6 separate regions of the Homo sapiens genome follow, and all the other regions are linked to region 2. Evidence: promoter capture Hi-C in 16 types of primary human blood cells and fetal thymus (Javierre and others, 2016). All regions are on one chromosome and are shown on one strand. Each heading gives the region's core, a stretch centred on a gene start or on the middle of the fragment in contact. The rest is flanking DNA. Distances are from core to core; before and after follow the strand shown. Region 1 overlaps MAPKAPK2 (MAPK activated protein kinase 2). Region 2 holds the start of PIGR (polymeric immunoglobulin receptor). Region 3 overlaps IL19 (interleukin 19). Region 4 has its middle 16 kb from the start of IL19. Region 5 overlaps MAPKAPK2 (MAPK activated protein kinase 2). Region 6 holds the start of IL10 (interleukin 10).

Region 1 (4,801 bases), core at 1,451-3,950, 260 kb after region 2:
CAGCTAACAGGGCCTGGCTGTGAGGGGAGACTGCAGCAGTGGCAGGTTTATTTTTAGCTGTTCGGCAGAGGGGCTGAGTAACAGTTCTGGGCCCTGGGCAGGAGGCCAGGCTGCTAAGGTCCGGTGTGTACTGAGAGCCTCCTAACAATGTGGATCATTAAAATGGCAGCAAACGAACAACTCGATCTTCTCCCTGTAGACAAGCAGGAGGATAAGGAGCCCCGCCGGAGGACGAAAGTGGAGGAGTCGGCAGGGGGACAGTCAGTAGATCTCCTGTTCAGCCCCTCCCCTCAGAGAGACTTCACCTTTGCTTCTGGTTCAAAAGAATCTTCATGGAGATGAGCCAGAGAGAAGGCATCAACAGTACAGCTCCCTCAGCTCCCTCATATGCTCTGAAACAGAAAAGGCTCCCATCGGGTGGCCACTAGCTTCCGCCTCTGGCCACCACTCTTCACCTCTAAGATGAGTCCTGGATGGACACTGGCCACAGAGATGCTTGGAAACGTCCCTCAAGAATAAGATGCCCTTTCATATGACCCTTTTGGAGGGCTCAGGTTCCCAGCAGAATGAGCGCACAGCTTGGCTGGTCTTGGAGGAGAACACCAGATACAAATATGGGCTGACCTTGGGGCCTTGTCCCAGCTCATTCTGGCACACAGAGGTGTTTACTGATCAGACAATAAAGACCCCAAGAACCTTTCACTGCCAGAGGCCCAGCCCAACTTTATGTCTCCTTCTACTGTGGCTTTCTTCCTCCTCCCACCAAACCTGATGGCCCAGCACACAGGACCCCACAGTCTAAACCTCCGGGGCTGAAACAGCTGCTCTAGCCTTGCATGGGCAGGAAGAGGAGGAAAGAGAACAGACATCACCAGGCAACCCCTTTTCCTCCTGCTTCCTTGGATTCCTGATATCTCTTCTTACTCAGCCTGGTCTGAGGGGCTGAGGGTCACCTGAATGTAAATCCTAATTTCCTCATCAGCTCTGTGAATCAGTCCCCAACTCTAACCTAAGAACAACCCCTAATCCATAACCATACCTTTGGTGAATTAGAAGGCACTCCTTTGAAAGAACCCAGCCACACACAAAGACAAAGCCAAGCAAGGAGACAGTGGCTGGACTTCAGCCTTCGCTTAGCTCCTCAACCAGATCCCTGTGCACAGGGAACAGCCTGCACCAGAAATCACAGTGGCCCTCAAATGCCCCATAACTTGAGAAAGGAATCTCAAACAGGGAATAGAGTTCCTCATCTCTACTTTGCACCACCACTACACTATGATTCTTCTGATTTTAAGGAAAGAGAAGATGCACACCCTGCTAAATTACGTAGTCTATCCTCTCTGCCGAGTCACCAGCATAGAACACTTTCTAAGTCTTCACACAAGAGAAGGAGCAGCTGGTCAGTGATGATTATTCATTAACTGGACACAGGCTGCCCTGGAGCCAGGCACTAAGCTTACGAAAGGGCATCTGTGCTGACCCAGATACTGCTGATGGTCAGACCCGGAGCAAGTCAGCAAGCTATCCTGCCTGCCCTCCACCTCTGGCCTGCAGCACCGCCTTCTACTGCCTCACCCTGCCGGTGCTCAGGAGCTGCTCGAGCCGACCCTCTGTGCAATGAGGCCTGGAAAGTTTAGCTGACCTATTCAAGGTCATGTAACTTGTTAGCAGCATACAAACACTGGAAGCTTTCTATTTATGTATGCACTTATTTTTGCTTTCTTATCTAGCACATAACCCATGGTAACAAGCTCATCTCTACATATCTATATCTGTGTATGTGTGTATATATATATATATATATATATCTTAAAATACAAAATACCAGTATTTTCCTAAAAACTAGAAAAGGTACACAGCAATCTGATTTGGGTTCTATAACTGCCATACGTTATTACACTGTCCAGTGACATGGCCCCTTCTCTTCACCAATGCCCCCATTTACAAGGTAACCCATGTGGAAAGATCCTAGCTGATGCGTTAGTGGAGCTCAGTTTTGCTCCACCAGGTCTACAGTCTTCTAGCAACCAAAAACCAAAGGGGCCCAGACCAAGAGCAGGTCCCAGGGAACCAGGTCTCAAGATGTGGCTCGGATGCTGACACCATGTAAGACCTTGGACATGCCACTGAACATTTCTGCACTAGGCCAGCTTCTTCCTCAGTGATGTGCAAGGAGTCAAGAAAGATGACCAGGGAGTGTGGGTTCTAAGTTACTATGAAGTGTGGGTTGCTTTGCCACTGGGCCTCAAACCATTACCAAGAAAAGCTGCAGTCCCTGCAAAGAACAACTCTTCTCTGCCCATCCACCTCCCTCCAGGACACAGAACCATCTGGAAAGATACAGTGCAGGGAAGAGGGGGAAAAGAGACCTCACATGACACTTGGCAGGGCCTGAAGTAGAGGAAAGGTAGGAGAATAGAGTGAATCCTGCACCACAGACATCACGCCACCAGGAAGAACCCCAGCTCAGAGCATGGCAAGGCTGCTTGGGAACTGGGCAATGGCTCAGATGCAGACGACTGTGCCCTGCTCTTCCCCATCTTGGCTGACATTCCTCCTGGCACCCACTCAGCACACTCCTGGGCTCTGGCTAACAGGAGCTTTGGCCCCTCCCCTAGCCCAAGGATTAAGTTTGCCTCCAGCAGTTCTGAGGCTGGGCTCTTCCAGGCCCTCCTCCCAATCCCCTGTACCTGCTTCATAAGAAAAATCATCAATTATGGATGGCCCAACCTCTCAGGTCCCAAGTAGCAGAAACATCACAGGTCCCAATACCTTCCTCCTCCCACAAAGGGGTTCTTTTGTTTCCTAGACACCCACCAATATTTGGCCCTAAGGCCCAGGGACTGCTTGTCTCTCCCCTCCTGTCAGCCACTGATCCCGTATCTTAGCTGGAGATTGTCTCCAAGCTCAGTCAAAGCCCAGAATTCACAAGTAAAAAAGGACAGTGAGCTGACCCAGCTTCAATCTTGCCTCAGTGGATGCCAAGGGCCCTGCTGCAGGAGCCAGGGGTCAGGGCTGGGGTCAGGGCTACGGCCAGGAGGGACAGGATCTCTGAAACCACAAACCTGACCCTTCCCTCATAATTCTGTAAGCCCATCTTCAATGATTCCTAACCTTTTTTGACACCTTCATGCCCCTCAAACACTTTAAAGCCTGCTTTGACACAAGATGAGTTAGCTTCAATTTGGAGCCACCAACCCCTGACCACTCTGACCTCCTGTTCCTCCCCTCAGTTCTAGCCAGGCCAATGTCACCACACCTCTCACAGACTTGCTCACTCCTCAGAGGCACAGCCATGTCCCACTGACCCCAGCTGGAGCCTCCCTTAGCTCCTGGAGTCACCACAGATTCCCCTCTTTCAAAGCTCCTCTATTCCCAGCCACACGATTTAGCTCCCAGACCAACAAAGTCTAGGAGAACGTTCTGCAAGGATGAAAATGTTCTTCTGCATTGTTCAATTCGATAGCCATTAGCCACATGTTTACTGAACACTTGAAGTGTGGCTAGCAACTGATTTTTCAAATTTAATTTAGTTTAATCCATTCATGTTAATTAATTTTAATTTAATTAGCTATGTGAGGGTAGTGGCTACCAGATTGGACAGTGCAGCCCTAGCCTACATGTGTTAATTTCACCTTCTCTAAATAAGTTTCTTGACTCAAAATTTTACAGGCCATTTTTTACATGTGTATCCTCCATGCAACTAAGCTTATGATAGATATTCAGCAAACTGTTACCTACCTGTAACCATATTGCATATAAAAGAGGCTGGCTTGGTCAATGAAATTTTCCTAACCTTGTGACAACTCCAGCAAACTCCAGTTTGGGACACTGCCTCTCACCTAGCCACACTAACTGTCTTGCCCTCCACAGGTACACAGTATGAGGTGTGTTGGAAAGGAGATGGTGCCTGTACTGTGGGGATGTGGGAGCTCTGGCATTTCCCTCCAACAGCATCCAGAATAATCATGAGAGGCTCCAATCATCTCCCCTTCACCAGAACAAAGGAAGCCACATCGCAGTGGCACTTCCATGACCTAGGGAGAGAGGAATGCTGGAGAAAGGAAAGGAAAAGAAACTACAGGACCTTGTTTTCTCTAATCCACGCAATGGAAAGATACACAGAGATAAGTTACGACAACATTCTATATTTTATAAAGCAGTAACATGCTTCACCTAATCAGAGTTGCACAGCAGAGAACAACGATACAGTCTTTAATTAAATTTGTTGAGCTAACACCTAAGGGTCACCATGACACAGTGAAGCGGCAAGCAGCTGAGGAACCCTCCCGGGGAATACAACTAATTAATACACAAGTGGGTTGAGACTAGGTGTCCTTATCAAAGAAGTAATACAGGCCGGGCGCGGTAGCTCACACCTGTAATCCCAGCACTTAGGCAGGCTGAGGCAGGCAGATCACGAGGTCAGGAGATCAAGACCATCCTGAATAACACAGTGAAACCCCATCTCTACTAAAAATACAAAAAATTAGCCGGGCATGGTGACGGGCGCCTGTAGTCCCAGCTACTCAGGAGGCTGAGGCAGAATGGCGTGGACCTGGGAAGCAGAGCTTGCAGTGAGCCAAGATCGTGCTACTGCACTCTAACCTGGGCGACAGAGCAACACTCTGTCTCAAAAAAAATAAAAATAAAAATAATAGAATTCCCATGTTCTTGTACAAAAAATAGTAAGTAAGGTGCCTATCAAATACTCTCTTAAAAGGGGGAGGGAGTGGTTAAAAAAATGCATGAAGCTACTGTTGAAGTTCCCCTCCAACTTTGGGGACTGTTCTCAGGAGCA
Region 2 (5,171 bases), core at 1,878-4,377:
CTGGTATATTTTCTTGTATGATTACTTTAAAAGAAGCAGGGAGGGTTGAGCAGATGAAGTGTTGTAAGTTTGGAAAGTATAATCACTGCTGTTATCATCATTATTATTGATTTGGGCAATGGACTCTCTTGGCCTGTCCCTCCTCCCCCAGGGCTGAGAAATAGTACTATTTTAGGGCCACTGGGTTCCAGATGGGGAAACCACAGTGCGAGAGGGGAAGCAAGTGAGTCCAATCACACCACCGGCGTGTGGCTGAGCCCAGAATAGGACGTAGGATTTTTGACTCCCTGCCTCTTCCCAGGGCTCTACTTCTCATTTTCCCCTTTCTGTAAACTGGATCAGTAGGATCAGTGGGCTCCAGGTATGTGGGGTGTGTGTGTGTGTATGTGTATGTGTGTGTGTCTGACATGGGTCAGCTAAGACAGTTTTGGAGACTATTGAAAACATGCAGCAGGACATGATCTAGTAAATTACCCACCATCATGAAATAGCAAAGCAGGGAAGGAAATCTGCAACCTGTCCTCCACGCCCACCAAGGCAGCATGAGAAGAAATGATTTAATGAGTGTTCTCCCCTTCCTCCCTGCAAGCCTTTGCTCGTCAAATTTCTGCACTAGTGTTCTGTGAACCTGCCTTGACTTCTACTCCAGCCTGGACAACTGGACACAACTTATTTCTTGCTTTGGGAAGGAAGAAACAAACCCTACAAATATTTTGACTATTGAGTTCAAATGGAGAGAGGTATAAATCGGGAATCCTTTGAAAGGAGCTATAATCTGACAGAACCAGGCTTGTCTCATCTCTGCACCTGCATATCTTGTCTCCCCTCGCATCCTCCTGCTAGACATTAACCCCAGAACTGGGGAGGAGAAAGACTGCTGAAGAGTAAAAAGGAGAGCTTAGTTACTGATGTGTCTTGGTGCCCTCCCACCCACCACCATGGGGCAGAGTCCAGGCTACAGTAGGGGAGAGGGGATTAACAATGATAGAGATATCCAGGTGGGCTTGAAAACTCCAGATTGAGGGGCCCTCACCTTCGCCCATCCTGTAGAGAACTTTGGTGGTCCACAGTCTTGCTGATATCCATTGTACCCCCAATTATATGGGAACACTGGCACACAGGAGGTTACAAGAGTGTTGGGGGAAAATGTGACTCTGCTGCACAGGATCTCCCAAAGGCCTCAGGAGTCTGTGATCAGCCAAACTCACCCTGCACCCACAAGGTGGGCAAGGAGAGGCTGAGGGCCTGGAAGACCCACCCCAGGGAGCTCAGTGTATGGACTAGGAGGGCACAGTGTGGACCACAGAACCCTCAGGATGAGCAGGGACAAAGCCCACTGACCAAGCAGGGGAAGTCACATCTCAGTAGACAAAACTATTTCCTTCTGGAGCCCAAGGCCAGCACAGCATCGTGACAAAGCAAGACCAAAATAATAATGGGCCACCCCTTTTCACTGCCTCAGCAGTAACATTGACCACCCCCTCACCCAAGACCGCTCTCTCCAGACTGGACCCCAGGGGAGAGAAGGGAGACAAAAAGGAAGGGAACTCCATAATGAGGCTAAATTTTAAATCTGGAGTGAAGTGACTGAGAGATCACTGAATTGGGCTGAGCTTGCCTAGAAGTGACTAGGTAACTTGTTTTCTTTTATCAGTCAGATTATGGGTTTAGGGTTTGAAATTAAGCTACATCTGGAAGCCATCATCCTCATCAAACTAACACAGGAACAGAAAACCAAACACCACATGTTCTCACTCATAAATGGGAGCTGAACAATGAGAACACACGGACACAGGGAGGGGAACATTACACATCCGGGCCTGTTGGGGGGGGTGGGGGGAGGGAGAGCATTAGAACTAATAGCTAATGCATGTGGGGCTTAATACCTAGGTGGTGGGTTGACGGGTGCAGGAAACCATCATGGCACACGTTTACCTGTGTCACAAACCTGCACGTTCTGCACATGTAATCCTGGAACCTAAAACAAAATAAAAAAAGAAAATCTAAGTTTGCAAACCACAAAAAAAGAGAGAAATTAAGCTACATAAAGAAATTATGGGGTTTTTTTGCTTGCCATTGAAATCTGTGATTGTGTGTTAACACCCACAAGTGAGCCAGTGGTTAGCTAAAATAAGACCCAGGGCTCTGGCTGCCTTGTGTTTCTCCAGGGCTCTATTTCTCTATTTTTCCTTCCCCTTCTGGTGTTTGGCCTATAGGACTCTGTAGGGAGAGCCTGGGTCAGCCCTGCACAGGTAGGATGGGCAGCATTTCTGTGGGGGTTTGCAGTGAGGGGTCGGGGGGCCATACACGTGTGTGTTGGGGAGTGGGCTTCACTTTTGTCACAGGACTGCCACGATCATTTGGGGAACACCTGGGAGTCCCAACCAGGTCATGTTTTGGCATGGACTAACAGATAGGGAAGGAGGTGCTACTTCAGCTCAGCAGGTCAGCACCGTCCTTGCTATGGAGCCGAGCCCGGGTCCTAACAAGACTCTGAGGTCAGCCATGTTCAGGGGAGCCCAGAAGCAGCGAGTCTTTCATGACTCTGGGGAGTGAAACAGGAAGGGCCACAGTCCTGCCAGTTCCTGGAGCTCTGGGACTGGTAAAAGGGGCTTGGCAGGAGGTGTATAAGGGGCATTTTTGTCCAGGCTAAGTAACCTAGGGAGTCGGAGGGGATTCCAGAGCAACTGGGGATATGAGACCAAGGACTACGACAGCCACTCCTGCCACCTGTGCCCCATCAGATGATGTCAACTTCAAATCAAGCATTGGGCCAGGTATTTTAGAGCTAATACCGGGCTATATCCTCTACCTGTAGATTTGGTATTACCATCCCTCTTTTCCAGATGAAAAGAAATAGGAAGGTGACTTGCCAAAGGTCTTGCAGCTAGAAAGCGACAGAACAGCATCTTCACGCTTGACATTCTGTCCCTCATCCTGAAGCTGCAACGATGGAGGATTCCCAAGTAACAGAGTCTCCCCAAGGTCAAAGGAAACCAAATGGAGCCAGCCAGGAAGGCCAAAATGAAAGGAAAGCAAGGGATCTGTGAGAGTCACATGACCCTGGCTGGCCACGGTGCCTGTGGGAGAGTGGCCCTTTAAGAGCCCAGGTGTGGGTCAAACACTGAGCAGAGTTTCAGTTTTGGCAGCAGCGTCCAGTGCCCTGCCAGTAGCTCCTAGAGAGGCAGGGGTTACCAACTGGCCAGCAGGCTGTGTCCCTGAAGTCAGATCAACGGGAGAGAAGGAAGTGGCTAAAAGTAAGTGTTACTGCTCTGGGATCCCCAGACGGGATGCTATCTGGAAAGGGCTCGGGACGATGGCTCAGGTAACCCCCTCCATTCCCAACTCCCAGTCTCCTAGATAGTGGGGTGACAAGGACAAGGAGGCAGACTGTGTGACTGTGTGTGGCTGGGGAGTAAGCGTGCATATCGCAGTGGGACGAGTAGGGATGCACGTGTGTGGAAGCCCCCCATCCTTTTCTGAGAAATATCAGCAGGTGGGAAGGGACCTCTGTGGTCAGCATATGTAATTCTACTCTTTCAGCTTGGTCTGTGCCTGGATTTCCTAACTCCTCATAGTTGATTAACTGTGTGGCCTTAGACAAGCCACCTAACCTCTCTGATCCTCAGTTTCTTAATCTGTAAAACAAAGATAGAAATAACACCTATCATTCAGGGTCAATGTGGGTTCAAATGAGAAAACACAGGTGAAATAGCTTTGTAACCTCTAGAATGAAATAGGAATTGTTTCATATTTTTCAGTTTAGTTTAATTAATCAAGGATTTATTGAACACCAACAGACCTGGAATTAGATAGTGCGCATAAAGTATGGCACCTAGCAAGTCCTCTTCCATTCTTTGAGGTTTCCCACTTGTGGCTTTCTGGCAAAGGCATGTTCAGCTCCTTTTTTCTGGGCTTCCAAGAACCTCTGAAATCCTTTGCAATTCCACCTCGCTTTGCTCTAGCAGATTCCTGCCATGGGAGACATAAATGTGTGTCATCGCATCATCCTGCCCTTCCTAGAGGTAGAAAAAAAGAGGTCCTCACGGGATCACTGAGTGAGGTGGAGCTGAGCCCCACAGGCAGCATGATCAACTCCTGCTGTTCCTCCTGGCTCTGCAGCCAGCAGATCTCAGACATGGGCTTCCCCTCCCTTTGCCCATCCTGACAGCAGCCCAAGCCAGCAGTGGGACCGTCCGGCACAAGGGCAGCAGCGGGTCAAGCTCCATCCCTGACCCCCAGTTCCCTTTGTGCAATTGCCACAGTGCCTGGGGCCATTGAAGCTGCTCCTATTTTGTGCCATCACTTTCCCCCTTCACTAGGGGAATTATAGATCCTTTAACATCTGGAGAGGAGATGCCAATTTCAGGGGTTTAGGTAGAAGGCAGCTGTCTGGTGCCTGGACATAGGTCTTCCCAGAGCCAGATCTGGAATTCTCTCTCCATCCTTGTCCCGCCCCTGGATGTGCTAAAGTAGCAGAAAGAACACTGAGCCAGGAGTCAGGAAAGCAACTCTCTCTGCTTATCTCCTAGTGCCGCTAGACCTCTGTGGCTTTAGGTGATAAAAAATGGGGTCACACAGGCTTCCATTTAGTAAACCCACTTGCCCTGGGCTTTCACACCTTCGTCTCATTCTCCCTTGATACCAACGAGGAGGTAGGCAGGGTTGGTTTTGTGATGTCATTCCCTAGTTGAGGAAACCAAGACACCGTGAGTCTATGTGAGTGGTGTGAAGTCACCAGCAAGTTTGAACGATGAGGTTTTGGTACAGCCATTTTGATATGGTCATGAGGACATTTTGATGTCACCTAAAAAGCAAACTATCCAACTTAAAAAAAAATACCTATGCATTGTGCTCAGCAGAGACCTTCATCTATGTCTTGCCCTCTCTCTGGAGGGGCTGGGGCTGGAGTCCCAATGTCACTGGCATCGACACAGTATGGTGGAGTGGAAAGAGGCTTTGGCGTCAACATGCCTGGTTATACCCATGGTTATGTAACATATCCTACACATGGTAGGTGCTAAATAAATAGCAGCTAATATTTTCCAGGAAGAAATTTCTCTGTTGGCACCTACCTCTGGGTCCAGGTGTCTCTTCATTTTTTAATTTTTTATTTTTTTGAGATGGAATCTTGCCCTGTCACCCAGGCTGGAATGCAGTGGCGTGATCTT
Region 3 (4,512 bases), core at 1,479-3,978, 130 kb after region 2:
TTGTGCTAGAGGAACCTCATTGTGCCAGTCCACAGCTGTTCTTTAAGCTCAGCCAATGCCACAGTAAAGTAGAGGCCCACTGTTCTCACCCAGCCATGTCCACATTTCAAATTCATCAGCAAATAAATGATTGCTATTATTTGAAGCCGCTGTTGTGGGATGGTTTGCTTTTAGCAACAAATTATCAAACAACCACTTTAGAGGTGAGGGCAGCAAGGAGGGCTAAGTGGAAATGACAAGCATCAACACTGGTGCCAATATCTTGATCTTTCTGGCCCTTATGTTTGGTTAGAAGCAAACATTGTTTGGCTAACATCTGGAAGTCATTTATAACCAGCATATGATTCTAGATGGTGCTAGTAGGTCTTTAGGCTCCAAATATAGAACATATCCCTCAGAATCTGGAGATAAGAGTAGAAATGGGTTGGTATGCTGGTATCTTGAAGGTTACAGACTGGTAAACTGATGTCAACCTCAAGCGGGAGGGTTTCTGATAGCCGACCACAGGCCTTCATCCTTTCCCTTGTCTTAGCAATGATTTTTATCGATCACTCAGATGAAGTTTAGGGGGGCCATATTTATCAAAGTCAGTAAATACATGAAGCTTGGAAGGCGAGTGAGCATATGGAATGACAGGATGAGGATCCTAAAATATTTTGACAATCTGGAGCAATAAGCTTAATCCAACAAGACAAAATTTAGGAGGGATAAATATAAGACTCCATGGTTGAATATGAAAAGAATCCTTCACAAGTATAGAAGGAAAGGGGGATGGCCCAGTCACAGGAGATATGAGACCCACATAAGAACTTAGGCTTTGGGGTTAGATAGACATAGGTTTACATGTTAGGTATACCAGTTAGTAACTGCGACCCTTGGAAAATTATTCAAGCTTCTCTTAGTCTTTCCCTGCAAGAATTAGAGATAATTCATATAAAGGACCTGGCAGTTTCTGGCAAAAGTAAGTGCTCAATAAGCGGCCAGTGAAAGATCTAAGTTGCTTGTAATAGTGCTGAGTCTCTACATAGCCCAGGAAAAAGCTATCCAAAAGAACTTTCTCTAATGGCAGAAATGTTCTATAATCTGAACTCTCCAATATGTTGGCCTCTAGCCACAAATGGCTATTGAGTTCTTGGAATGTGCCTATTGCAACTAAGGACTGAGTTTTCCTTTTTTTTTTTTTAGACGGAGTCTTGCTCTGTCACCCAGGGTAGAGTTAGTGTCACATCTTGGCTCACTGCAACCTCCGCCTCCCAGGTTCAAGGGATTCTTCTGCCTCAGCCTCCCGAGTAGCTAGAACTACAGGCACACACCAACACACCCGGCTAATTTTTGTATTTTTAGTAGAGATGGGGTTTCACCATATTGGCCAGGCTGATCTGGAACTCCTGACCTCGTGATCTGCCCGCCTCAGCCTCCCAAAGTGCTGGGATTACAGGCGTGAGCTACTGTACCCAGCCCAGTTTTACATTTTAATTGTAATTAATTTAAATTTGGATGGCCACTTGTGGCTAGTAGGTTATTATATTGAACAGTGTGGGTTAAGATGATGTTAAGAAATGCTAAACTCTGAGACAGGAGGATTGCTTGAGCCCAGGAGTTTGAGGCCAGCCCAAGCAACACAGCAAGACCCATCCCTTAAAAGAAAAAATAAGCTGGGTGTGGTGGCTCACGCCTGTAATCCCAGCACTTTGGGAGGCCAAGGCAGGCAGATCACGAGGTCAGGAGTTCGAGACCAGCCTGGCCAACACAGTGAAACCCCATCTCTACTAAAAATACAAAAATTACCTGGGCGCTGTGGCAGGTGCCTGTAATCCCAGCTACTCAGGAGGCTGAGGCAGGAGAATCGCTTGAACCTGGGAGGCGGAGGTTGCAGTGAGCCAAGATCATGCCACTGCACTCCAGTCTGGGCGACAGAACTAGACTCTGCCTCAAAAAAAAAAAAAGAAAGAAAAAGAAAAAAGAAAGAAAGAAAGAAAGAAAATACAAACTCTAAACCTAAGTAAGATCTGGAGCAGAGAAACAATTTTCACTTTTCTTTATAAACTTCTAAATGGGCTGACTTTTTATTGTAACGAAAGTGTACAATTTGATAAGCTTTGGCATATCCAGACATCCATAAAACCATCACCTCAATTAAACTGTGAACATACTCAGTAGCCCCAGCAGTTTCTCCTGCTCTATTTTAATCCTTTTCTCCTACCCTCTCACCCACATCCCCACTCCAACCCTGCTCAGGCAAGCACTAATCTGCTTTCCGAAAGTATAGACTAATTTGGGTTTTCTAGTATATTATGTAAATAGAATCATACAGTATGTAGTCTTTTTTGTCTGGTTTCAACTGAACATAATTATCTTGAGATTTGTCCATGGTGTTGCATGTATGACCAATTAATTTCTTTCTAATGCTTAGTAGTAGCCATTATATGGCTATGCCGCAATTTGTTTGCCCATTCTCCTTCTGATGGACATTTGAGCTACTTCCAGTTTATCGGCCCAGAATATGGTCTGTCTTGGTAAAGATTCTGTTTGCACTCAAAAAGGATGAACATTCTAATATTGTTAGGTAGAGTGTTCTATATATGTTAATTAGGCCAACTTGGTTGACAGTGTTATTTAAGTCTACTATATCCTTGCTAACTCTGCCTCCTTATTCTATGGATTATTGAGAAATGGGTATTGAAATCTTCTACCATAATTGGCCGGGCGTGGTGGCTCACGCCTGCAATCCCAGCACTTTTGGAGGCTGAGGCAGGCAGATCACTTGAGGTCAGGAGTTTGAGACCAGCCTGGCCAACATGGTGAAACCCCATCTCTACTAAAAATACTACTATTAGCTGGTAGTGGTGGCACACGCCTGCAATCTTAGCTACTCAGGAGGCTGAGGCAGGAGAATCGCTTGAACCCAGAAGGCAGAGGTTGCAGTGAGACAAGATTGCACCATTGCACTCCAGCCTGGGCAAAAGAGAAAGACTTTGTCTCAAATTAAAAAAAAAAAAAAAGAAATCTTCTACCATAATTGTAAATTTTTCTATATCTCCTTGTAGTTCTGTGAAGTTTTATCTACTTTAAAGCTCTGTTATTAGGTGCATAAACACTTAAGACTGTTATGTCCTCTTGATAAATTTACCTCTTTATCATTATGAAATGACCTTCTTTATCCCTGGTAATATGCCTCTCTGAAATATGTGTGATAGAGATATAGATGAGATTTATGCCTCTAGATAAATAGGTAGACATATGTAGATAGCCAGCTTTCTTTTGACCATTATTAGTGTTACTGCACAAAAGTGTCTTGCTGCTGGATGTGCTAGAAGCCAATATAATGACATTGAGTTTTTGAGAAAAGAAAAGCTTTATATTGCAAGTTGACTCACAAGAAAATAAGAGTGTCAAGCTCAAATCTGTCTCCCTGTGCTGGCTTCAAGACAATATTTATTTTAGGAAAAGTTCAGGGGGTAGATTCTGAGATCAGTAGGTGATTGGTGGAAGGAAAGGGAGGTCTGGAAAGTCCTTAGGCATGCGCAGTTATCTCTTCATGCTAGATCACAGGTCTCATGTGCAAATCAGGGGGAGTTAGTATGAAACATATGGTGGAAATTTAGGCTGTGATGTCAGCAAGCTCATTCTGTGCAAACTCCAGTAGGCCATCTTGGTTCCAACTGATTTCAGCCAGTTTTTTTTTCTTGATATCAGAAGCCAAGGGAGTTTCAGCGTTTCAGCAAGTTGCTTCTTATCTGATATCCTGCCAGCTCAAGAGTTTCTGTTAGTTACTGGTTTCTTACTCTTTGGTGCACAGTTTCAGTTTCAGCTTTTCAGCAAGTTGTTTCTTTTCTTATCTGCTATCTTATAAGCCCAAAAATTTAGTCATTGGTTTCTTTAACTCACTGAGGGACAGTTCATTAGCATAGTATATCTTTCTCCATTTTCTGCATTCTTTCACTGTTAACCTATTTGTGTTTTTAAAGTATGTCTCTCATATAGTTTGTTCTCACGTATTTTCTTTAAAAATTCAGTCTGATTATGTCTCCTTTTTAATGGTCATATTTAGGCCATTTGTATTTAATGTGATTATTGATATGGCTAGGTTTGGGGCTATCCTCTTGCTATTTGTTTTCTATTTGTACCATCTTTTTTTAAATACCTTTGCCCCTTTTTCTGCCTTCTTTTGATTTCATTAAGTATTTTCATTATTCCATTTTATCTCCTTTGTTGACTTATTGTATATAACTTTGTTTTATTATATTAGTGGCAGTGGCTGCTTTAGGGTTTCATATGTACCATATGCTTTTAACTCACCACAGTCTGCCTTCAAATCATACTATATATTTCATGTAAGGTATAAGAGCCTTATGATAGTGTACTTCCGTTTCTTCACTCCCAGCTTTTATGCTATTATTTTCATACATTTTACCTATACCTATTTTATAAATTCCAAAGTACATTATTTTTTAAAAATAATTATCTTTTAAAGATATTCTTAAAATCTTATACATTTACGCATGTAGTACC
Region 4 (4,443 bases), core at 964-3,463, 190 kb after region 2:
TTTAAGGATCTTCTAATGTTTCACTTATACATCTTCTGTCTTGTCTAGACTAAGTCTAATTGCTTTAGTAGCATTATTTTAGGGGAAAAGGGAATTGTTCATTTCCCTCCATGGGGTTTAGAAAGTAATTTCACATTTCATTTATGTTGTATGTGCTCTGACTTCTCCACCAACTGCCTGCTCTTCCAGCTCTCTCCTTCTCCTAGGACCTCTCTATTATTTGAGATGTAACAATATTGAAATTAGGCCAAATAATAATCCTACAATGGTCTCTAAGTGTTCAAGGAGAAGGAAGACTCACACATCTCTTACTTCAAATTAAAACCTAGAGATGATTAAGCTTAGTGAGGAAGGCATGTTGAAAGCTGAGACAGGCCAAAAGCTAGGGCTTTTGTACCAAACAGCCAGTAAATGTGAAGGAAAAGTTTCTGAAGGAAATTAAAAGTGATACTCCACTGAATACACAGATGGTAAGTCAGTGAAACAGCCTTATTGCTGATACAGAGAAAGTTTGAGGGATCTGGATAGATCAAATCCACCACAACACTCCCTTAAGTCAAAGCATAATCCAGAGTAAGGCCCTCACTCTCTTCAATTCAAGGTCCTTGCTCTGGATTAGAAGAAGCTGCAGAAGAGAAGTTGGAAGCTATGAGTAGTTGGTTCATGAGGTTTAAGGAAAAAGAACCATCTTCTTAACGTAAAAGTACAAGGTGAAACAGCAAGTGCTAACGTAGAAGCTGCAGCAAATTAAACAGAAGATCTAGCTAAGATCATGGATAAAAGTGGCTACATTAAAGAATGGATTTTCAATGTAGATAAAACATTCTTATATTGGAAGAAAATGTCATCTAGGGCTTTCATAGCTAGAAAGAAGTCAATGCCTAACTTCAAAGCTTCCAAGGACAGGCTTACTGTCTTGTTAGGGGCTGATGCAGCTGGTGACTCTAAGTTGAGGCCAAGGTCCTTTTTTATTTTTATTTTTATTTTTTTTTTGAGACGGAGTCTCGCTCTGTCACCAGGCTGGAGTGCAGTGGCGAAAACTTGGCTCACTGCAACCTCTGCCTCCCAGGTTCAAGTGATTCTCCTGCCTCAGCCTCTCGAGTAGCTGGGACTGCAGGCATGCGCAACCATGCCCAGCTAATTTTTGTATTTTTAGTAGAGATGGGGTTTCACCATGTTGGCCAGGATGGTCTTGATCTCTTGACCTTGTGATCCGCCCACCTTGAGGGCATTTACCATTCTAAAAATCCTAGGACCCTTAATAATTATACTAATTCTACTCTGCCTATGCTCTATCAATGGAACAATAAAGCCAAGATGACAATACATCTCTTTACAGCATGGTTTACTTAATATTTTAAGCCCACTGTTGAGATCTACTGCTCAGAAAAAAGATGTTTTTCAAAATATTACTGCTCATTGACAATGCTCCTGGTCACCCAAGAGCTCTGATGGAGATTTACAAAAAGGTGAATGTTGTTTTCCTGCCTGCTAACATCTACTCTGCAGCCCCTGGATCAGGGAGTAATTTTGGCTTTTAAGTCTTATTATTTAAGAAATGCATTGTGTGAGGCTATAGCTGCCATAATGATTCCTTTGATGGGTGTGGGAAAGGTAAATTGAAACCATTCTGGAAAAGATTCACCATTCTAGATGCCATTAAGAACACTCGTGATTCATGGGAGAAGGTCAAAATATCAACTTTAGCAGAAGTTTGGAAGAAGTTAATTTCAACCCTCATGAATGACTTTGAGGAGTTCAAGACTTCAGTGGAGGAAATCACTGCAGATGTGGTGGAAATAGCAAGAGAACTAGAAATGCAGACTGAAAATATGTGACTGAGTTGCTGCAATCTCATGATCAAACTTGAACAGATGAAGAGTTGCTTCTTATGAATGAGCAAGGAAAGTGGTTACTAAGAGGGAATCTACTCCTGGGGAAGATGCTGTGAATATTGTTGAAATGACAACAAAACATTTAGAGTACTCCATAAACATAATTGGTAAAGCAGCAGACAGGCCTGAGAGAACTGACTCCACTTTTGAAAGATGTTCCACTGTAGGCAAAATGCTATCAAACAGCGTCACATGCTACAGAGAAATCTGTTGTGAAAGAGTCAATCAATCCAGCAAACTTCACTGCTGTCTATTTTAAGAAATTGCTACAACCACCTCAGCCTTCAGCAACCACCACCTTAATCAGCAGCCATCAACATCAAGGTGAGACCCTCCACCAGCAAAAAGATTACAACTCACTGAAGGTTCATGTGATCATTAGCATTTTTAGCAATAAAGTATTTTCAAATAAGATATGTATATTGATGTACTTTTTTAGGCATACTGCTATTGCACACTTAATAGACTACAGTCTAGTATAAACATAACTTTTACATACACTGGGAAACCAAAAAATTTGTGGGACTGGCTTTGTTGTGATATTCACTGTCTTGCAGTGGTCTGGAACCAAATCCACAATATCTCTAAGGTATGTCTGTATAGCTAAGAGCCTGAATGAAAAGATGAACCAAGCAGTCTAAGTTCAATAATGCAGGAAATAAAGGCAGGAGAGAGCTGAAAAAAGAAAAGGAAGCATGTTGATCATGAGGTCAAGGAAGAGTTGTAGTGGGAGTATCTGAATCACTAAAGAGAGGAGGCTGTGGCAAGAGAATGGAATGCTCAAATGAAGGGATTTTTGGAGGTGGTATCATTTTGAGGAATAACAAAATCCAGGCTGTAACCGTTAGAGCAAATTGCTGTGTAGAGGCAAAGAAAAGGTCATTGGAGATATAAAAGTCACAGAATTGAAAAGTCACATTTGGATAAGTCAACCACAATGGTATTGAAGCCCATCAGACTCACAGCAGTAGAAGGAAAATCAGTAGAAAGCAGTAGAAGGAAAAATATAAGTGTTCAAATCATTTGTGAATGAAGGAGAGGGAGAAGATATTTGAGCATCCTGGAATTTCTGATAGATTCTAGTTTCCACATGTGTAGTATTCTCAGAGTTTCATATACTGGACAAATGATCATTCCAGATTTCTTCAAACTTTTTTTTTTTTTTTTTTGACAGTCTCACTCTGTCACCCAGGCTGGAGTGTAGTGGTTCATTCCAACCTCTGCCTCCCAGGTTCAAGTGATTCCCATGTCTCAGCCTCCCAAGTAGCTGGGATTACAGGTGCATGCCACCACACCTGGCTAATTTTTCTATTTTTAGTAGAGACAGGCTTTCACCACGTTGGCCAGGCTGGCCTCAAACTCCTGGCCTTGAGTGATCCACCCGTCTCGGCCTTCCAAGGTGTTTGGACTACAGGAGTGACACCATGCCCGGCTTAGATTTCCTAAATCTTAGAGGAGAATAGATTTAGATCTCTTGAGAAGACCCCGTAACACAATTGGAATTTCCTAATAAATGAAAGGACCTCTATGTTTATAAATATATCTTACCAGATTGAAGTCACTTTTATGTCATAAAAGTAACGCATGTCCAAGCGTAAACCACACACAAACTTAGAGTCACCCAGCTTAAGAAGCTTTTATTTTTGGCCAGGATGAATCATCATTCAATGACACATCCAATGGGGAAGCTCCAGCAAATCTCCAAAACAGACCTTCCTTTTGTGGTACAGGTTCTTAGTCCCTTGAGTCTCTTCTCTCTCACATATTACCATGGAGCTCAATCTCTTTCCTACACAGCAAAAAGATGGAAAATCACCATCAAGAAATTGTTTCCTAGGAGGCCGGGCACAGTGGCTCACGCCTGTAGACCCAGCACTTTGGGAGGCCAAGGTAGGTAGATCACTTGAGTTCAGGAGTTCAAGACCAGCCTGAGCAATGTGGCAAAACCCCATCTCTACAAAAAAAATACAAAAAATTAGCTAGGTGTGGTGGTACATGCCTGTAATCCCAGCTACTTGAGCGGCTGAGGTGGGAGGATCGCTTGAGCCCGGGAGTTTGAGGTTGCAGTGAGTTGTGATCATGCCACTGCACTCCAGCCTGGGTGACAGAGCCAAGACGCTGAAAAAAAAAGAAGAAAGAAAAGAAAGAAAGAGGGAAGGAAGAAAGGACGGATGGAAGGGAGGGAGAAAGAAAGAAGAAAGAAAGAAAAAGGAAGGAAGGAAGGAGAAAAACAAAGAAAGAAGAAGAAAGAAAGAAAGGAGGAAAGAAAGAAAGAAAGAAAAGAAAGAAAGAAGAAAGAGAGAGGAAGGAAGGAAGGAAAGGAGAAAGAAAGAAGAAAGAAAGAAAAGGAAGGAAGGAGAAAGAAACAAAGAAAGAAGAAAGAAAGAAAAACAGAAAGAGAGAGAGAGGGAGGGAGGGAGGAAGGAGGGAGGGAAGGAAGGATGGAAGGAAGGAAGGAAGGAAGGAAGGAAGGAAGGAAAGAAGGAAGGAAGGAGAAATTGTTTTCTCAAGTCTAATATAAATCTCTTGAAGAAAATAGACGTCCTGG
Region 5 (5,120 bases), core at 1,990-4,489, 240 kb after region 2:
AAGAGCTAACAGCAAAGTTTGTACTGCATGCAGTTACTTGTAATACATATATCCTGGCAACTCAAATTTGAGCCAAATTCTTCGAGGACTGATGTTATTTAACCAAACCATAGTAACTGAAATTCACACAGATTAGAACCATGAAAAATGAGGACTGTCCATAGAAAGAGCATAATCTGTAAGTATATATGCTAAAGAGCTGGCAGTGATTACCTTTCAGGAAGAGCTATATTGTTTAAATTTTTTCTCGGTGACTAAGCTCTACACCTTGGGAATAGTTCTCAACCTGGTGTTAATTTGCCCCCCAGGGGACGTTTGGCAATGTCTGAAGGCATTTTCTGTTGTCATAACTTGGGGGCATGGGTAGATAGATGGTTGCAACTGGCATCAAGTGGGTAGAGGCCAGGGATGCTGCTAACTCCTACAAAGCACAGGACAATCCCCCACAACAAACAAAGGCTTATCTGGTCCAAAAGGTCAACAGTGCCAAAGCTAAGTACCCTAGTTTTAAATCAAGGAGTTTTTATTAAGCTAATTTGAATAGTACCTTTCTCACCAAGTGGTAGGCAAAAACTAAATGACACAATGGCAAGTAGAAAGTTCATAATAAATGCCATTAGTATCAGAGGCTCGGACTGACTTCAAGCTGAATGGATATCTTAATATGACCTTAGATTTGTGGTATTTTTACAAACATTAACTCATCTGATCTGATGCCATGACGTGGCTGCCAAAAAGTTAATATTTCCTTCAGCTCACAGATCAAGTACCTAGCTCAAGACAGGGATCCAAATGCACCCACACTCTATATTTCTCCCATACCTAGAATCCACATGTAGATCACATCGAGCAGCGAGAACTCAGTTCTGGGCAACACATCTGTAAAAGAGTATTATACTTCCAGAGGAGGACAACCAGGATATAAAAGATCTGAGGAGCATAACATAAGAGCAACAGTTCAATAAACTAGGGTGAATTGCCGGAAGAAGAGAAACCCTGAAGGAGCAACTGAGGGACTGGATGTGATAACAGTCCTAAAATAATTGGGTGCACAGTACAATGAGAGGGCAGGGCAGAGAGTCAGATAGGAACAATAAGTAACAGCCTCCTGTAACTCTGCAATCACACTCCTCGTTGTTTACCCAGGAGAAATGAAAACATTACATCCACAACAAGATTTGTGCAAGAATGTTAACAGGAGCTTTATTCATCATAGCCCAAAACTGGACACAGCCCAAATGTCCATCAACAGGGGAATGGAGAAGCAAATTTTATCATATCTATACAATGGAATACTGCTCAGCATAACAAACTACTGATACATGTCACCATGCAGATGAAATTCACACAAAAGGGAGAGTTCATACTGATTATCCCATTTATATGAGGTTCCAGAAAAAGCAAAACTAATCTACAGTGAGAAAACATCAGAACTGTGATCACTTGCGAGGGGGTATGTGTTGGGATGATTGGGAAACAACACGAGGGAATTAATTAGGTAATAAAACTTTTTGTTCTATAGTTGACAGAGGTTTGGGTTGCACAGATAGAGGCATTTATCAAAGCTTATCAGGTGATACCTTAAGAGTTGTGCATTTTTCACTGTTAATATAAATATTATCATCAAAAAAATGCATGAACAAATATTGAACTCAAATTAATGCCTATGTATGCTGAGATGTTTAGGGGTAAAGTACATTGATGTCTGCAATTTACTACAAAATGCATCCCCAAAATAAGATGGACTGGTCAATGGATAGAGAGATTGAAACACGTAGAGACATGATAAAGTAAACATAGTAAAAGGCTAATGGTTGAATCTAGGTGGTTTGGTATAATCATGTTCACTGTACAATTCTTTCCAGTTTGCTGCACATCTGAAATGTTTCATAATAAAAAGTTGTGAGGAGGAATAGGAAGTAACAACAGGTGGGGAACACCACAGGGGAAACAAGAGGTGGCTGGGAGGTCACAGGAGGAAAGCGCAAGGGGAAGAAGAGGGCTGGTTTCAGCCAACACAGGGGCCTGCGGAGGGCAGAATTGCAAAAGGCCAGGGTGACCTGGGAACAGACAAACTTAGCCAACAGGGAATCTTAGCATATGTGAGGCTGCTACCCAGACCTTTACTGTTGTTAGTTCTTGTTCTGACTGTGTGATCAGAGCAAGTAAGTCCCTGCCCCTCTCTGGCTGTGGTTGAAGGGATCAATGTACAATGTAGGGATCTGTTTAAAGGATCCCTACTTAACGCTTTCCAGCTCTGTCAGTCTATTCTTCACAGCATTTGTGGAAACCATTTTTTTTAGACAGGAATCAAAGAATGTAGAGACACAATTACAGCTTCAGCAAAATCCAGCTGGTTTCACATAGGCAAAATGCAAGAAGTCTCCTGTTACATCACTGTATTCTCAAAGAAAGGACCTGGGTGCAAGTAGCTCTCAACTGTCTCCATGTGGACTGTCCACTTTGTAGTTTAGCCACAGCAAATGCTAAATCAGTGAGCAGGAGCCCCATGCCCTACCCCCAAACCCCCACACACACCCAGCAGGTCTCTGGGGCACAGAATCTGAGTGGAGCCAACATGTTCCCCACCTTAGGCATCTTGGCGGAAACTAAGGTGCAGAGAGTTGCAGGCATTTTACCAAGGTTACACAGTCCATTAACACAGTGAGGGCTACAACCCAGGGCCCAGGGCAGACCATGTGGATTCCCCAGAAAAGTGCTGGGATCCAGAGAATCCTCCCCAATTTCAGTGCCTACAACCAGCCCCTTTTTTCTCTACCTTTGCTGCTCTGGTTTCCAAGGAAACCAGAGTCTGGTGCTTCTGGCTTCACATCTTAAAGAAGAGGGAGAGATGTATGTTTCTCAAACCAAAGTCTATTACCTCACAAACCAAAAACAACCTCTGGCAGAACTTCCTTCCCACCATTCTCCATGGGGGAGAGATGGAGTTGGGAACAGACTACTTAGTGGGGGCCTGGAGGAAGTCTCTGGAGTGCCTGGGGGTGGGGGAAGTCCTGCTCCCACCCTGGAATGACTGTGGTCATCACCTAGGGGAAATCTGGGATCCTCATCATGCAGGACAACAGGATACCCCGTCTAGGTCCAGATGTGCCACAGCTGCAAGCAGGGCCCTGACAGGAAGTGGAGGCCCAACAAGAAGAAGACCTGTGGGAGAGAGAAGAGCGCGGCTGCAGTGCCGTTCCCTCCTCCAACTACATGCCTACTAAGCTCCAGCTGGAGCCGCAAGGCTGCCAAGCTGTTCGGGGCTGACGGATGGAATGACAGGTGAGGGGAGAGAATGAATGAGGGGTAGGGAAGGGGCTCAGACACTGCCCTGCCTTCTAGCCCCAAGGGGTAGGGAAGGGGCTCAGACACTGCCCTGCCTTCTAGCCCCGAGGGGCTGCAGGTAAATGCTCAGCACTCAAGCCAGGACCTAGAAAGAGCACATCTGAAGCCACTTCTGAACAAGTAAAGCCCCACCCACGGGCAAGAAAAAATTTCCATCATGACCGATTTGTCTAGAAGTGGCCTGAACGTCTTCCCAGCAGCGGTGATGCATACCCAGCTGAGGGGAAGGAGGGAGTCATCTGCACACTTCTGCTCCCCAGGCCTTCTCCATCCTTACCCCATACCCGCCTCGGTGAGCTCAGAGGTTCTTGGCAAGGGCTTGCTCCCTGGGGACCACAGCAAGCCCACGGGGGTCAGAGCTGCTGGTCCCCTCCAGAGAGCCTGGAGCCTGGGAGTCTGCAAGTACAAGCCCAGTTGGCAGCTGCAGCTAATACTCCCGATTCCCAAACCAAAGCCCGGCCCACCCAGACGTCCTGCAGGGTGGTCGGGATAACTGCAGAGCAGCATCTGCCCTTTCTCCACTAACAAAGAGGCAATGATCAGAGGGACTGGCTTTGCTCCTCCCCCATCTGAGTGACTCTGGGTCTCTGTGGCTGTGGCCAGGGAAAGGCAGGGAGAGGGCAAGAAGGAATGGGAGATGAAGGACACCTCCCCTAGCTCCTTCTGGGAACAGACTAACTCCTGTCCCTGTGGGAAGACCAGGAGGGGAAAAGCAGCCTTTTAAGATTAAGCAAATAAATAAATAAATAAATAAATAAATAAATAAATAAATAAATAAGAGATAGGAAATCCTGACCCCGCCTTAATTACACTGGAAGTGTATAATCCTCAGGAAGAGTAGCTGATTCCCACCCCACACTCCCATTTACTCCCAGTTGCCAGTTTCCTGAGAAATAACCACTGCCTCACAGCGAAGCTGCACCAGAAGGGTGTTGAGGCCTGCAACAGGCTCCGGGAATTCCCTAAGCCTGGGTTTGTTCCAAGCGAAAAATCCAGTAAAGCCTCCCAGTCATTTCTCAGGAGTCGGCCATCTGCAGGACCCATCATTCATATCCACCTCCGACCAACGTTCCAAGCACAAGTCCAGCCAGGACTCTCGAATTTTCAAACTCCACAAACTTCCATAAATCCAGTTCACAATTCTGAATTCCTCCTTGAATTTAACCCAAAATGCCTTTGTCTCAGCTCCCTGGGTAACGGAGAGCTAATCGCCTTTCTGCCCTGGTCCACCCTCCAGATGCCCTTGGGTTGGTGGAGAAAGGAGAAAGCATCCAGCCCACCTGCTTCTTCCTGGCTGTCCCTCAAGAGTCAACACAATTGCACCCATCGGAAAGGAGAAGGCAGAGAGATAAGGGAGCTAAATCTTGTTCCCCTCTGCTTCCAGGATTAGCAAGCAGCTGCCTCAGAATCACCAGCCTCTCCCTTGTCCAATACCCAGGCACTCTCGGCAGCCTGGCCCTCCAGCAGGAGTGTCTACTCATGCAACCCCATGCTGCACATTGCTGCTTCCCAGGCATGACAGATGCAGCTGCTATTCAGTGTTTTCATGCCAGGACAAAAGCTTCTCCAGAAGCACAAAGCCAACAGGGAGGCAGACAGAGCTGATTTCAATAGAAGCCACCTGCCGGGGCCCCTCCTCTGCCACACCCCTCCCCCCAACCCACCGTACATACACATGCAAACATACATACACCTTTTTCAAACCTCTCCAACTTGTGCTGACCCAGAGTCAGGTGACTTTTGCTCTGAATCACTGAACAGTTCTCCCAGAG
Region 6 (2,932 bases), core at 135-2,634, 170 kb after region 2:
AGCTCAAAGCTGATTCGGCAGGGCATGGTGTGTACATGAATGATAACCACGTAGGGTTGCAGGTTTCCTAGTGAGGTAAGCACAAGGCAAGATGGGAAACAAAGGAAGGAGGGGTTCACAGCCTCACCCAGAGTCCAGAACCCCTGGCCTGCCTGGTGCCCATGCTGAGTCCACTTCTGGAACACCCAGCTCAGAGAGGGGGTTAGACCTGCAGGCTAACACAGACACAGCCCAGAAAACCCAGGAGCCGAGGGGGAAGGAGAAAGGTGCAAGAAGGGGAAACCCAGGTCCTGGTCCCCTTCTCTCTGCTTCCTGGCAGCAGAACTCAGACAGAACCCTTAAGCCAGTCTAAGTCTGGCAGGACCAGTAAGTTCTGAGTTAGCTCCATACTAGTTTCTAGCAGGCTCTTTCTCACTTCCTGATTCTTAGGTTTCTACATTGACACTCCCTGAAGAGTTGGGAAGAGACACCACAGTCCCCTGACCCTGATCCATAGGTCACACAGCAGGGACATCCACAGGGTGGGCGTGGGCCCTCTCATCCCTCCCTCCCACTCACTTCACGCTGGCTGGGCCCCAAGGTGTTTGCACCCCTTGCAGTGAGTGACCTTCTCTAGTGCAGCAAGCTCAGAACCTGCTGCCACTGGAGTTGTCCCATTGCTGATGCAGAAAGGTGAAGAACTAGCAGAACACTGGAAATGCCCTCCATCTGGGTCCATGGCTACTTAAGCTCAATGCTCCCTGGCAGGCAGGAGGACAGGTGCTATTGCCCTGTTGGGACAGATGAAAAACAGACACAGGGAGGATGAGTGATTTGCCCTGACTATAGAGTGGCAGGGCCAAGGCAGAGCCCAGGCCTCCTGCACCTAGGTCAGTGTTCCTCCCAGTTACAGTCTAAACTGGAATGGCAGGCAAAGCCCCTGTGGAAGGGGAAGGTGAAGGCTCAATCAAAGGATCCCCAGAGACTTTCCAGATATCTGAAGAAGTCCTGATGTCACTGCCCCGGTCCTTCCCCAGGTAGAGCAACACTCCTCGCCGCAACCCAACTGGCTCCCCTTACCTTCTACACACACACACACACACACACACACACACACACACACACACACAAATCCAAGACAACACTACTAAGGCTTCTTTGGGAAGGGGAAGTAGGGATAGGTAAGAGGAAAGTAAGGGACCTCCTATCCAGCCTCCATGGAATCCTGACTTCTTTTCCTTGTTATTTCAACTTCTTCCACCCCATCTTTTAAACTTTAGACTCCAGCCACAGAAGCTTACAACTAAAAGAAACTCTAAGGCCAATTTAATCCAAGGTTTCATTCTATGTGCTGGAGATGGTGTACAGTAGGGTGAGGAAACCAAATTCTCAGTTGGCACTGGTGTACCCTTGTACAGGTGATGTAATATCTCTGTGCCTCAGTTTGCTCACTATAAAATAGAGACGGTAGGGGTCATGGTGAGCACTACCTGACTAGCATATAAGAAGCTTTCAGCAAGTGCAGACTACTCTTACCCACTTCCCCCAAGCACAGTTGGGGTGGGGGACAGCTGAAGAGGTGGAAACATGTGCCTGAGAATCCTAATGAAATCGGGGTAAAGGAGCCTGGAACACATCCTGTGACCCCGCCTGTACTGTAGGAAGCCAGTCTCTGGAAAGTAAAATGGAAGGGCTGCTTGGGAACTTTGAGGATATTTAGCCCACCCCCTCATTTTTACTTGGGGAAACTAAGGCCCAGAGACCTAAGGTGACTGCCTAAGTTAGCAAGGAGAAGTCTTGGGTATTCATCCCAGGTTGGGGGGACCCAATTATTTCTCAATCCCATTGTATTCTGGAATGGGCAATTTGTCCACGTCACTGTGACCTAGGAACACGCGAATGAGAACCCACAGCTGAGGGCCTCTGCGCACAGAACAGCTGTTCTCCCCAGGAAATCAACTTTTTTTAATTGAGAAGCTAAAAAATTATTCTAAGAGAGGTAGCCCATCCTAAAAATAGCTGTAATGCAGAAGTTCATGTTCAACCAATCATTTTTGCTTACGATGCAAAAATTGAAAACTAAGTTTATTAGAGAGGTTAGAGAAGGAGGAGCTCTAAGCAGAAAAAATCCTGTGCCGGGAAACCTTGATTGTGGCTTTTTAATGAATGAAGAGGCCTCCCTGAGCTTACAATATAAAAGGGGGACAGAGAGGTGAAGGTCTACACATCAGGGGCTTGCTCTTGCAAAACCAAACCACAAGACAGACTTGCAAAAGAAGGCATGCACAGCTCAGCACTGCTCTGTTGCCTGGTCCTCCTGACTGGGGTGAGGGCCAGCCCAGGCCAGGGCACCCAGTCTGAGAACAGCTGCACCCACTTCCCAGGCAACCTGCCTAACATGCTTCGAGATCTCCGAGATGCCTTCAGCAGAGTGAAGACTTTCTTTGTGAGTATGATTCCTTCCTGTCCTTTCTCTCTTCCTGGGACTGCCTGAACTAGACATTCTCCTGGAACTATAAGAACCCTCCTCCTGCGCCTCCACCTCCATCCCCAACACCTATTCCCCCAAACTTAAATTCTTAAGAGAATCCTAGATCAAGCCATGGGTTTGGTGAGTTAAGCTAAGCCAGATGATACAGTAAATGTGCAGGAAACCTGCCTTATAAAGTAAATGCGTTCTCTCTCGTGCTGAGAAACTTATAAGATCCTGCTGGCGCTCTATACTTTATTGGCTAGGAGAAGTAAAGAAATGTCTGATTCGAGGTGAAGATGCTCCCCATGCCTTGCAGCAGGGAAATTTAAATTGCCTCTGCTTAGAGCGTTTCCAGACCTGAAAGACCAGTGGTTTAGGGAAGCACTCTACATGAGGGAAACCTGCATTAGAAGGAGCTTCTTAATCCCTGGGATCTTTCCAAGCTAAACTGGATGTCTACAGTGGGGAGAAAGAAAAGCA

The links. The method cuts DNA at HindIII sites, captures the fragments that hold promoters and counts their contacts. A CHiCAGO score of 5 or more calls a contact.
Region 1: a contact is called between a fragment that was not itself captured here and the fragment with the promoter of PIGR in region 2, in 7 of 17 cell types (non-activated CD4 T cells, total CD8 T cells, naive CD4 T cells and 4 more). The highest score is 10.6, in non-activated CD4 T cells.
Region 3: a fragment that was not itself captured here is called in contact with the fragment with the promoter of PIGR in region 2 in 3 of 17 cell types (non-activated CD4 T cells, naive CD4 T cells and naive CD8 T cells); the score reaches 6.8 in non-activated CD4 T cells.
Region 4: a fragment that was not itself captured here is called in contact with the fragment with the promoter of PIGR in region 2 in 3 of 17 cell types (naive B cells, total B cells and non-activated CD4 T cells); the score reaches 7.7 in naive B cells.
Region 5: a fragment that was not itself captured here is called in contact with the fragment with the promoter of PIGR in region 2 in 8 of 17 cell types (non-activated CD4 T cells, naive CD4 T cells, naive CD8 T cells and 5 more); the score reaches 11.9 in non-activated CD4 T cells.
Region 6: a fragment that was not itself captured here is called in contact with the fragment with the promoter of PIGR in region 2 in 4 of 17 cell types (non-activated CD4 T cells, naive CD4 T cells, total B cells and 1 more); the score reaches 6.6 in non-activated CD4 T cells.

Annotation. Positions count from the first base shown.
Region 1 is chr1:206,688,490-206,693,290 of GRCh38, reverse strand. The region is part of intron 1 of MAPKAPK2 (MAPK activated protein kinase 2); the gene reads right to left. Among named protein-coding and RNA genes, the nearest start is that of MAPKAPK2, 6.0 kb to the right of the region's middle. RefSeq lists an enhancer at 4,658-4,801. The HindIII fragment of the contact is 2,020 bases long and covers 1,691-3,710 here.
Region 2 is chr1:206,944,422-206,949,592 of GRCh38, reverse strand. PIGR (polymeric immunoglobulin receptor) reads left to right here and starts at 3,127. Exons shown (of 11, transcript NM_002644.4): 1 at 3,127-3,257. The HindIII fragment of the contact is 20,587 bases long and covers 1-5,171 here.
Region 3 is chr1:206,816,252-206,820,763 of GRCh38, reverse strand. All of the region lies in intron 2 of IL19 (interleukin 19), which reads right to left. Among named protein-coding and RNA genes, the nearest start is that of IL10, 46 kb to the right of the region's middle. The HindIII fragment of the contact is 1,257 bases long and covers 2,100-3,356 here.
Region 4 is chr1:206,752,431-206,756,873 of GRCh38, reverse strand. No RefSeq gene overlaps it. Among named protein-coding and RNA genes, the nearest start is that of IL19, 16 kb to the left of the region's middle. The HindIII fragment of the contact is 2,636 bases long and covers 896-3,531 here.
Region 5 is chr1:206,705,120-206,710,239 of GRCh38, reverse strand. All of the region lies in intron 1 of MAPKAPK2 (MAPK activated protein kinase 2), which reads right to left. Among named protein-coding and RNA genes, the nearest start is that of MAPKAPK2, 23 kb to the right of the region's middle. RefSeq lists a silencer at 1-116. The HindIII fragment of the contact is 3,344 bases long and covers 1,568-4,911 here.
Region 6 is chr1:206,771,764-206,774,695 of GRCh38, reverse strand. It overlaps IL10 (interleukin 10), which reads left to right and starts at 2,202. Exons shown (of 5, transcript NM_000572.3): 1 at 2,202-2,425. The coding sequence starts at 2,261. All of the region lies in intron 1 of IL19 (interleukin 19), which reads right to left. RefSeq lists cis regulatory regions at 1,952-2,491, 1,952-2,573. The HindIII fragment of the contact is 213 bases long and covers 1,278-1,490 here.